4 separate regions of the Homo sapiens genome follow, and regions 2, 3 and 4 are each linked to region 1. The links are contacts of gene promoters, found by promoter capture Hi-C in blood cells and fetal thymus (Javierre and others, 2016). All regions are on one chromosome and are shown on one strand. Each heading gives the region's core, a stretch centred on a gene start or on the middle of the fragment in contact. The rest is flanking DNA. Distances are from core to core; before and after follow the strand shown. Region 1 holds the start of MAP3K5 (mitogen-activated protein kinase kinase kinase 5). Region 2 overlaps MAP3K5 (mitogen-activated protein kinase kinase kinase 5). Region 3 overlaps MAP3K5 (mitogen-activated protein kinase kinase kinase 5). Region 4 overlaps MAP3K5 (mitogen-activated protein kinase kinase kinase 5).

Region 1 (2,700 bases), core at 138-2,637:
CGAAATCGCGCCATTGCACTCCAGCCCGGGCAAGAAGAGCGAAACTCCGTCTCAAAAAAAAAAAAAAGTAATTTACATTTTCTTCTGCCTTTTTCACAGGACTCACTAGTCTCAGTTCCTGGAGATGGGAAGTACAAAACCTGTTTCTTTACTCAGTTGTAACTTGCACTGGCTTTCCTAACAATTACAGCATTCTGGGGTTCTCTGGGAACTTACACATCTGTTCTTTGCTCCCCAAATAAGCAGGTACTTTTTTTGATTGCTCTTAAACAATCTGGGTATTTCCCTCCCGGCCTCGCGTGATGCAGTTTAAAAAATAGAATAGGTCACGTTATTCCCCTGTTTCATCTTGTTGATAATTTGTGGAGTCGGGTAGAGACTCCATCTTCTATCTTAAGTATCTGGCGCTTGTGGGGGAATTAAGATCCTAAATGAGAATACTAAGTCCTTCGGCAGTTGGCACTAATCAATTACTCATTACTGATAACGGAATGAGCCACTGGAAATTTTAAAAGGAAAAGTACATGGGAGAACCTGATCAATTTAGCCAGCCACTTCTGGAGTGCCACAGTCACTAATGAAGCAACCTCCAGTGCAGGCCCTGGCTCCAGGGCGCTATGTACAACCTCCTGCCTCGCGCAACGTGGGTCTCCCGGAGCCTATCCTGCCAGCGCCGCGCACGGTCCCAGTCCACCAGGCCGCCAAGGCCCGGAGGGGGGCGCCCTAGTCGCGGGGAACACTGGAAATGCTTCAGGGGCGGACTCCGAAGACCGAGTATTGCCTCGAGGGACTTTCTGCGCCACCCCGTAATCGCTTGCGCTCCAGGTCTTCGTAGGTGGGGGCCGGGTGGGTGAAGACTGGGACCCTATGCCACGCGCAGCACTCAGAGGAGGGCTGGGGTCCCAGGGCCGCAGCGCGGTCAGTTCAGTCCGGGCTCGAGCTTCCTAGCAGCGCCCTCCTTGGGGGCTGGCCCTGACCCTCGGTGCCGCTACGAGTGGGTGGCCAGAAGCTGGTGGTGGAGAGGGAGAGCGTCTGCAAGGAACGACGAGGCTGGCGCCGGGACCACGCGGCGGAGGCGATCGAAAGAGAAACGAGGCCAGGCAAGGAGGAGGAAATCCACCCGATGAAGGCGAGCTGCCGCCTAAGAGGGAGGAGGGTCCTTTCGGCTGCCGCTGCTGCTGTTCCGGGACGCCGCCTGGGGAGCCAGCCCGCTCGTAAGGTGCGCGCCAGGTAGCTCCGCACCCAGGGGGCGCCCTTCCTGGCCCCTCCCAGAGCGGCCGGGACGGAAGGAGCTGCGCGGCGCGGCGCGGCGCGGCGCGGCGGGTGGCGAGGGCGGGCTGCACCCCGAGCGCGGCGCCCTTGAGCTGCACCGCGGCGCAGGTTTGCGAGCCGACTTGTCAGCCGGCCAAGAAAAGGAAGCTCCGTCCCTTCCCGCTCACCCGGCTTCCCCACCCCTTGTACTCTAAACTCTGCAGAGGGCGAGCGGCGCGGCCACGGAGGCGCCGAGGAGGAGCGAGCCGCCGCCGGGCAGCGGCGTGCCCTCGGGGGAGAGGGCGCCGGAGAGGAGGCGGCGGCGCGGCGGCGAGGGCGCGGCGCGCGATGGCAGCTGCTTAGCCCGGCGGGCGCGGAGCAGCCCCGAGCTGTGGCTGGCCAGGCGGTGCGGCTGGGCGGGGGACGCCGCCGCCGTTGCTGCCCGGCCCGGAGAGATGAGCACGGAGGCGGACGAGGGCATCACTTTCTCTGTGCCACCCTTCGCCCCCTCGGGCTTCTGCACCATCCCCGAGGGCGGCATCTGCAGGAGGGGAGGAGCGGCGGCGGTGGGCGAGGGCGAGGAGCACCAGCTGCCACCGCCGCCGCCGGGCAGCTTCTGGAACGTGGAGAGCGCCGCTGCCCCTGGCATCGGTTGTCCGGCGGCCACCTCCTCGAGCAGTGCCACCCGAGGCCGGGGCAGCTCTGTTGGCGGGGGCAGCCGACGGACCACGGTGGCATATGTGATCAACGAAGCGAGCCAAGGGCAACTGGTGGTGGCCGAGAGCGAGGCCCTGCAGAGCTTGCGGGAGGCGTGCGAGACAGTGGGCGCCACCCTGGAAACCCTGCATTTTGGGAAACTCGACTTTGGAGAAACCACCGTGCTGGACCGCTTTTACAATGCAGGTGCGTGTGTGACCCCTTTCCCATCCCGCGCGGTCGGGACCCGCGTTTAATCTGGCGGTCTTCGGGGCATTTCATTTTTCTGGGCGGGAAGCATTTACTTCTTGCCCCACTTTGGGGGCAGCGAGCGCCGCTGCGTGACTGCTCCTGTCGCTCGCCGCTCCGGAGAGAGCGTGTGTGCTTGTGCAAGAGTCTGTGTGTACTTGTGCGATAGACCTATGGATCCACCCACCGCCCAGCGCTGGAGCCCTGGGTCCATGCGATCGACTTGAACTGTTCTCCAGCAGTGTGAGATATTTGCCCCAGTCAGTCTTTCTCCTTTCAGTGTCTCGGTTTCGCTTCTGTGAGGTTTGGTCCCTGTTTTCTTTCTGCATATACCTGTGACCGTTTTAGATGAGGTTCTCCTTTTCTCTGTGTAGTTTTGAGAGTACGGGAACGATGACATACCATGCACGCAGAGTGTAACTATATTAATTTGCATGCCATGTGATGATCTTCCCAACTCACCTTACCTTCGATAAGTTTTAGTAGCTTGAATTTCCTCTCACC
Region 2 (2,700 bases), core at 90-2,589, 230 kb after region 1:
CAGTCTTATTTTAATAAAGGGAGATTGCCTCTCTGACTTTCATATCCCAATTTTGTCCTCTGAAACCCAGCTCTTGCCATCTCTACTATTTAGTGGGAAAGAACTTGGGTCTTTTCTCTTCTGAGACTTCATGGAAATCTTGGTTTCCCTCATTCCTCCTCTTCTCAAGCAAGAGTCCAAGGATAACACCCCATCGTTATGGAAGGTGTCCATGTTAGTCACTTATCTCTAGGTTACTCTCTGTTGCCCAGTCCTGAGTGGTGGTGTTTTTTGGACTCCTGCTGTGATCTCTGGAGGAGGAAAGTTCACTCATTACTGTTTTGGTTGACCTCCTCCCACCCATGCCTTCTGGTTAGAATTACGCAGATAGTAAAACTACTTTGTTTACCAAAGAGCTGGTATATCTGCTTTTCTGGCCCTGAAACCTCCTGTCTACACACCTGGCTGTGTCAATAGGACCTGCCTCTCCTAATGCAGCCTAGACACAAGTCCTTTTCCTTCTCTCCTTGGCCTATTTGGTTAGCGTTGTGCTCGCCACCCTGGCGCCACTGTCTGTCTACCATGCTTGGGCCATCTGCAGTCCCTGAGGGCTTCCGGCCGCTTTCTTCACAGCTTCCCCTTTCTCTTCTGAGTGTCTCTTGGTTCTAGCTGAGGGCCTGCTTCTCACATCTGCCCATCTCTGTTGAAAAGACTAGTATTTACCCACATTTCTTTATTACATTAGTATGTCACAACAACCCACACATTTACGCTTTTTCCTCTGCATATTTACATTTGAGTCTGTGAAATCTACAGATAATCAGCCTCGTTTTTCCTTTTTCAGTAATATCTCCCACGGCTTTCCATCACCCACAGAAAAGTGAGATGAGGGACGATGTTTGCTTCATGCATGATTTGAAGAAAGGACAGCTGCTTTAGTACAAAAACCAAGTAATTGAAATAAGGGACCAGTCCTGTCCATATTGGTCCTTCTAATTTTCAGTTGAATATTACCTGAAATATAAAGGCATACCTACCGCAAAATGAATCTAGAGGAAATGTTAGTGTGTTTTCAGGAAAGGTTGTAGCTCTCATATTAAAAATTGTAAGCTTAGAATATTTAGGATGATCACTGATGAAGGGAAATCAGGTTTATCCTGCTTGGAGGATCACCTGAGCCCAAGAGGTTGAGGCTACAGTGAGCCATGATTGCACCATTGCACTCCAGCCTGGGTGACAGAGCAAGACCCTATCTCAAAAACAAAAACAAAAACCTGTCTCAAGAGGAGCTGCCTGTTTATTTAATTTCCCCATCCTACAGTTCTGGAATTACCCACCAATCCACCTCATCACCCCTGCCCATCCAAGGTTAAAAATTGACCTCATGGCAGATCCTGCCATACTTTTTTGGAACAGAAAGGCAGACAGTTGCCTTGATTTCAAAATATTGCCCTGCTAAATAAACACAAAATAAAAATAAAATTGATGTACTGGATTGTTCTTAAGATAAATACTTCTAAGAGCTGGATTCGGAGCAAATGAGGTGGGCTGTCAATACTCTGCTTCCAGTGTTGAAGTTCTGGTGTTTAAGGTGTTAAAAGAAAGCTTCAGACAAATTAAATTTAATGGAGTTTAATTGAAAAAGAAAAAAATAGTTTGTGAATCAGGTGGCCTCTAGAATCACAGCAGATTCAGAGAGATTCCAGGGATGCCTCGTGGCCAGAACAAATTTATAGAAAATAAAAGTAAAGTGACGTACAGAAATCAGAAGTGTGCAGAAAGAGCTGGATTTGTTATGGGTTGGCGTTCACCTTATTTGAACACTCAGCAGTGTATGAGTGGTTGAAGTATGGCTCCTGGGATTAGCCAAGACTCAGCTATTGTTATAGACGCATACTCCTAAGTTAGGTTTTCAATCTTGTCTACCTGTTAAGTTATAGTTTGTCCACGAGGACTCAAATATGCAAGTACGGAGTCCTTCTCAGGCCATATTTCATTCACTTTAACAAAAGATAAAAAGAAATTACATAGTCTAGACAAACATAGGTTAAACTCTAGAAAACATCACTGTGTTCCTTGAGAAAACAGTAAGAAGATACCATCACTGTCTTATACGTATAAATTAGCAAGTAGGACAAAAATACATACCAGATCAAAAAACTGCCAACTTAAACATTCACACAGAGCTTCCTGCCCATTTCTTTGGATAATATTTGTTTTGAAAGAGATAAGAAGCCTCCCTCCAAGACCCTGTGCTCCCTCTTCTAGCTTTCAGTTCATGCTGCTTCATCCACCTCATTGTGCACCACACTTACCCTGCAGCTGTCTTTGTTAACTTATTTTCCTCCACCCACCTTCTCTGTCTACCTCTTATTGTGTTTTACTTTTGTCCCACCTCTGCTACCTACTCTGCTGTGATCCCTTCTCTCTGAGGATCTCATCTTTATGTCCTGTGGGAATGGGGTCGAGCCTGGGGGTCTGGGAAGGTTTCCTTCCCACTGAGTCCTGGAAAGGCTCTTTTCCAGGGACTGAGGTAGCAAGGAACAGAACATCCCTTATTAAAGACCAGACACTGACTTGGCACTGTACCTATGCTGTCTCATTTAATGCTCACAATAATCTTTTCTGGAAGCTTTAGTTTTCTTTTTTACAAATGATTTGAAAACTGAAGCCTGGAGGCATTAGGTAATTTATCTAAGGTTAACACAGGAAGTGCAGGGT
Region 3 (2,700 bases), core at 90-2,589, 130 kb after region 1:
TATGGATTGAGAGAGTTAACATTTTCAGTACACACAGTGCTAGGCATCTGAGTATTCAGTAAAGTCTGCCATTTTCCACTAAAACAGCCTTGAACATAATAACAGCTGCAAGGTGATAAGACTATGACAAAAAGTAAATGATTAAAAAATCCTCAGTGTAAGTCAACCAATTTTAATGACAGCATTGTCAGCATTTAAATTGCATAAATATGCAACTGAATCAAATAAATGGTGAAGTGGTTGTTAACACAGCAATGACATACTGCTCATTGCTTAAAAATTCAACCAAAATATTTTTAAATAGAGAAAAATATTGATCTGGAAGGACTTGGTTAAAAAGGTACAACTGAACATCACGAATTGTGCTTTATTAATTTTTCTGTATGGATGAAGAGCCTAAAAATATTTTAGTCTGGAACCAAGTATAACAGTACTCCTGAAATTCTATCCTATGGAAAAAATCCTAAATACAAAACAAATTTGATGCACTAAGATGTTTATTTCTATATTCTGTGTGGGTGTGAGAGAGAAAGAGAGAGGAAGAGAGAGAGAGAAAGGAAGAGAGAGAGGGAGAGAAAGGAAGAGAGAGAGGGAGAGAGAGAAAGGAAGAGACAGAGAGAACGGACTTCTAAATATAAAAAATTAGAGCCATGTTCTTAACTCCATACTTAAAAGATTAATGTCTTCATGTAGAAACAAGTTTGTGCAAAGAGCATAAATGCTCATTCACAAAAGAAATACAAACATGAAAAGAGAGCCAATCTCAGCGGTTAAAAAAGACAATGTTCCTTTTTTTCCTCTGTCATATTGGTAAAGATGAATGCACGTGATAGTCCCCCTCACTGGGAAGGGTGTGGGTAAGACCTTATTGTCAGATGCCTCCAGTGAAAGTATAAATTGGTACAGCATTTTCTAAGGGCAATTTGGCAAAAATGCATCAACACTAAAAATGGGCATGTCTTCTGTCCCTAACAAATCCACGTTTAGAACTGTATTATAAAGAAATAATTGAGCAAATACACAAAGCTGTGTGTACAAGAATGTTTAGAGTAATAAAAATGGCCACCCATCTGCATTTGGGTAAATAAATTATGATACATCCATATGCTAAAATACTAATTGACATCAAAAATATACATTTTATCCAAATGCTGGCTGGGTGTCACAATCATGTGATAAATGTATGGCAAGGCCAAAACCAAATATCACCACCACAAAATGAACTTCTGAGGTTCAAGAGTGCATCTGAAATTTTATTTTAAAACTATTATTGGGTCAGGTATGGTGGTTCATGCCTGTAATCCCAGAACTTTGGGAGGCCAAGGCGAGAGGACTGCTTGAGCCCAGGAGTTCGAGATGAGCCTGGCCCACAGAATGAGACCGTCTCTACAAAAAAATAAAAAGTAGAAACTACAAAGAAATTTAATTAGCCAGTTGTGGTAGCATCTGTTATCTCAGCTAGCAGGTCTAAGGCAGGAGGATCACTTGAGCCCAGGAGTTCGGCTGGGCAACATGGCGAAACCTTGTTTTTCCAGGAAAAAAAAACAAAATTTAGCTAGGTGTGGTGGCTCATGCCTGTACTCCCAGCTACCTGGGAGGCTGAGGTGGAAGGATCACTTGAGCCCAGAAATTCAAGGCTGCATTGAGCAGTGATCGTGCCACTGCACTCCAGCCTGGGCGACAGAGTGAGACCTTGTCTCAAAAACAACAACAACAAAATTATATCCAGATAGAAGACCGTGGATGTTGTCCTATGCGTGTGTAATATTTTTTTTTCATCTCGTGAAACAGCAGTGGCAAAGCTGTTCTCTCTTTACCCTCACAAAATGTGAAGAATTCCCAAATGGACATTTTCCTGAAATACTTGTGGTTTGAGTGGAATTATACGATAAAAAGTAACATGAAAAATTTTAAATGTTATTTTGTTTCTTTCACAGATAATTTTCAAAAAGCTAAAATCATGACTCTCATCAAATATAAAATGGACACATATAAAATCATGACCCTCAGCAAATATAAAATAGACACATAGAAAATATTTTATTTAACTCAACTAATATGGAAACTAGTAAGATGGAATGTCCAGTTCAAAAAACATTTCTATTCATAGACAACAAAGAAATGTTAAGATAAGATATCTGAGTTTGATTAAGGAAAAAAAAAAAAGCTGTTTTGTGTCCACAGGCCATAAATCTTAGGGATTTATCCATTCCACTCTACAGAAATTTGCATCTCTACTGGACAAAAATCTGCAAGTTAACAAGTAAACTTCTGTAAGTCTGGGACCTTTAATAAGTAGTACATAATGAGATGAACTAGCGTCACTTTCCTGAGATAGTCCTTGAGTGGCCTTATCTTCCCATATGATATTGAAATGATATATCCTACCTTTTTGCCTTATTTCTAAATCTCAGATAATTTTCCCAACAATTTAATGTGATGGATGTTAGTGGCACCAAACAATGCTACAAGGATATATTTTTTTAAGCAAACAAATACTTATAAAATGCAAAAATAATACAAGACATAGTAGAATTGAAAATATATAATGAAACATTAAGAACATAGAAGTGCCAAAACAGTGTTGAAAAAGAACAAAGTTGGAGTATCTACATTACCGGATTTCAGGACTTTTAAGACAGTGACATAACAAGACAGTATTATCTGTCAGTCTAGTTCCTTTTTTTTTCTGTTTTTTCT
Region 4 (2,700 bases), core at 147-2,646, 170 kb after region 1:
TTGAGCAACCAAGTCAGAATTGCTATTAAGGAAATCCCAGAGAGAGACAGCAGGTACAGTAATTGTAGCTACTAAAAGCTGTTCTGTAGTACTTTGGGTTGTTGACAGTATTTTAGAAAATACTTGATGATATTCTAATGAATGAAACTGTGAAAACTTCACTCTGTGAATTAGCTCCTTCTGAGGTTTCGCTGCTGCATCATTCAGTGTTTGAAGTGCCAGACTGGTGGGGAAGAACGGGGCTTTCAAAGACTAGAAAAGAGAATGGCCCTGTGTGTGTTAGGCTCAGGTTGTCTTGGATAAAGGTGGATGTATTATGTGAATAGATGAGGAATAAGCACTATCAGAAATCGTTTAGGTTGGAACCAGTTCTAGGTTCCAGTCGGGCATGTGAGGAGCTTGGAAGTTGTCATTCCATCTTAACAAGTAGAAAGCTGAAGAGACTGAAATCAGTGGCTCTTCTTGGATTCGTCCGTGAAGTTGCAAGGGAGGCAGCTGCCCCTGAAATTGGAGAGACTGGAAAACTGAGAGACTCATAACTTACTGAGCAGAAATCCATGATCTGCTCACCTCTGTGGGAACCAGTGCTGGGGTAGGAAAACTGAACTGTAACTGACAAATCTCTAGAGGCCCACTGTGAAGTCTGAGTTAAAAACTCCAGTGGGACCCAGTCACTGAGGGCTGGGGATGAGGGTCACACTTTCATGAGTTTTGGAGCTTTACCAGGTCCTCAGAGAGACTTGAAATAAGAGAAATCCCATTGTGCTTCTGGCAGCAAGAAAGGAAAAGTCACTATTTCTTTTTTTTTTTTTTTTGAGACGGAGTCTTGCTCTGTCACCCAGGCTGGAGTTCAGTGGCACGATCTCGGCTCACTGCAAGCTCCACCTCCTGGGTCCATGCCAGTCTCCTGCCTCGGCCTCCTGAGTAGCTGGGACTACAGGTGCCTGCCACCACGCCTGGCTAATTTTTTGTATTTTTAATAGAGACGCGGTTTCACCGTGTTAACCAGGACGGTCTTGATCTCCTGACCTCGTGATCCGCCCGCCTCGGCCTCCCAAAGTGCTGGGATTACAGGCGTGAGCCACCATGCCCGGCAAAGTCACCATTTTTAAATACGCTGAAGCATTCTGTTCTTAACAAGGTCTGTCCACAAGAGACTCTATTTTACCGGAGCCTAACCAAACTAGGGGAAGTGGAGTACCAAATTTAGCCCAACTCTAGCTGTCCTGTCTCACCTAAGGGGGCTAAAGCTAAGGAGCACTTGTAAAATTCACAGCCCAGGGGCACTGGCTCACTAAAAGACTGAGACCTAATCACAGACCTGTCGAACTCTTCCCCTCCCTGACTGCTTCCCACCACATCACTAAAGGCCTATTTACTGCAGCACTTTCACCTAGGATATCATGTCCACCTTTCTATAGAAAACTATAAGGCATACTGAAAGACAAAAAACACAGTTTAAGCAACATAGCAAGTGTCAGAACCTGAACCAGATATGGCGGGGATATTAGAGTTATCAGATTGTGAATCGTATTCACATGCTTAGGGCTCTCATGGAAAGGTAGAGATTGTGCAGGAGCAGATGGTAATGTAAGCTCAGAGATGGAAATCCTAGGAATAATTTTTAAAAATGCTGGAGATCAAAAACAGTAATAGAAGTGAAGAATGGCTTTGATGGCTTATTAGTAGACTGGGCACAGTTAAAGAATCTCTGAGTTTCGGAATATATCAGTAGAAACTTTCAAAATTAAAAAAGCAAAGAGAAAAAAGACTGAAAAAAAAAACTGGGACAATATCCAAGAACTGTGTGACAACTACAAAATGTATAATATATACATTTTTGCCATCAAAAGTAATTAATGGCAAAAACCGCAATTACTTTTGCACCAACCTATGCTTGAAGAAATGAGTTGAATCTCACATAGTGAGGCCTTGTGAAAGGTGGAATCTTTTTTAGGAACAAAAATGTTCAGGAAACTGAAGCGCTCTGGTGATAGGATTATCTGTTGCTCACTGCTCTTGTGCTCTGCCTTATGGTTTATTTCTCCAACTAATAATTCTGTCTTCTCTCAACCTCATGATTTCTGCTGCCTTAGGGCTTCCCTTACATCTCTCTGTAAGGCAGTGCTCCTGTAATTAGTGCAACGCAGTTGTAGTGTATGATACACAGTTGTGTGTGTTGTGTATTCAAAGTCTGAAAGAGAGAAGATTGGATTATTTAATAGATGGTTATTATTATCCATATTTGGCCAGGCTTTAATGCTGGGCTACATCATGGGCTGACTCTGGCTGCCCTTGACTCCACGTTCTGTGGCCGTGGTCATAGGCCACATGACCAGCCTTCCTTAGGAAGGACCCACCCCTGAGCTCCCCAGGTTACCTGTCTACCCCACATCTCCAGTTATAGATCTCAAAGGCATCTCAAGGTTAACAGGACCAAAACTGAACCTGGATTTTTTTCCTTTTTTAACTTTTATTTTAGAACCAGGGGGTACATGCGCAGGTTTGTTACAAAAGAATATTGTGTGTTGCTTAGGTTTGGAGTACAAAGGAATCCATCAAATATACCTAGGTAGTGAGTATGTAACCCAATAGCAAACCCAGATTTTATTTTTATTTCCTTATTTCTTTAAGTCAGAGACTCACTCTGTCATTCAGGCTAGAGTGCAGTGGCCCCATCTCAGCTCATTGCAACCTCCA

The links. The method cuts DNA at HindIII sites, captures the fragments that hold promoters and counts their contacts. A CHiCAGO score of 5 or more calls a contact.
Region 2: a fragment that was not itself captured here is called in contact with the fragment with the promoter of MAP3K5 in region 1 in 1 of 17 cell types (megakaryocytes); the score reaches 8.1 in megakaryocytes.
Region 3: a fragment that was not itself captured here is called in contact with the fragment with the promoter of MAP3K5 in region 1 in 9 of 17 cell types (megakaryocytes, total CD8 T cells, naive CD4 T cells and 6 more); the score reaches 9.5 in megakaryocytes.
Region 4: a fragment that was not itself captured here is called in contact with the fragment with the promoter of MAP3K5 in region 1 in 3 of 17 cell types (neutrophils, erythroblasts and naive CD8 T cells); the score reaches 10.0 in neutrophils.

Annotation. Positions count from the first base shown.
Region 1 is chr6:136,791,164-136,793,863 of GRCh38, reverse strand. MAP3K5 (mitogen-activated protein kinase kinase kinase 5) reads left to right here and starts at 1,387. Exons shown (of 30, transcript NM_005923.4): 1 at 1,387-2,154. The coding sequence starts at 1,707. RefSeq lists enhancers at 307-386, 757-816, 927-1,156, 1,947-2,016, 2,122-2,637 and a silencer at 1,177-1,816. The HindIII fragment of the contact is 11,326 bases long and covers 1-2,700 here.
Region 2 is chr6:136,563,985-136,566,684 of GRCh38, reverse strand. The region is part of intron 26 of MAP3K5 (mitogen-activated protein kinase kinase kinase 5); the gene reads left to right. Among named protein-coding and RNA genes, the nearest start is that of MAP7-AS1, 13 kb to the right of the region's middle. The HindIII fragment of the contact is 495 bases long and covers 1,092-1,586 here.
Region 3 is chr6:136,660,414-136,663,113 of GRCh38, reverse strand. All of the region lies in intron 8 of MAP3K5 (mitogen-activated protein kinase kinase kinase 5), which reads left to right. Among named protein-coding and RNA genes, the nearest start is that of MAP3K5-AS1, 33 kb to the right of the region's middle. The HindIII fragment of the contact is 4,633 bases long and covers 1-2,700 here.
Region 4 is chr6:136,620,201-136,622,900 of GRCh38, reverse strand. It overlaps MAP3K5 (mitogen-activated protein kinase kinase kinase 5), which reads left to right. Exons shown (of 30, transcript NM_005923.4): 15 at 1-53. Among named protein-coding and RNA genes, the nearest start is that of MAP3K5-AS1, 7.6 kb to the left of the region's middle. The HindIII fragment of the contact is 4,602 bases long and covers 1-2,700 here.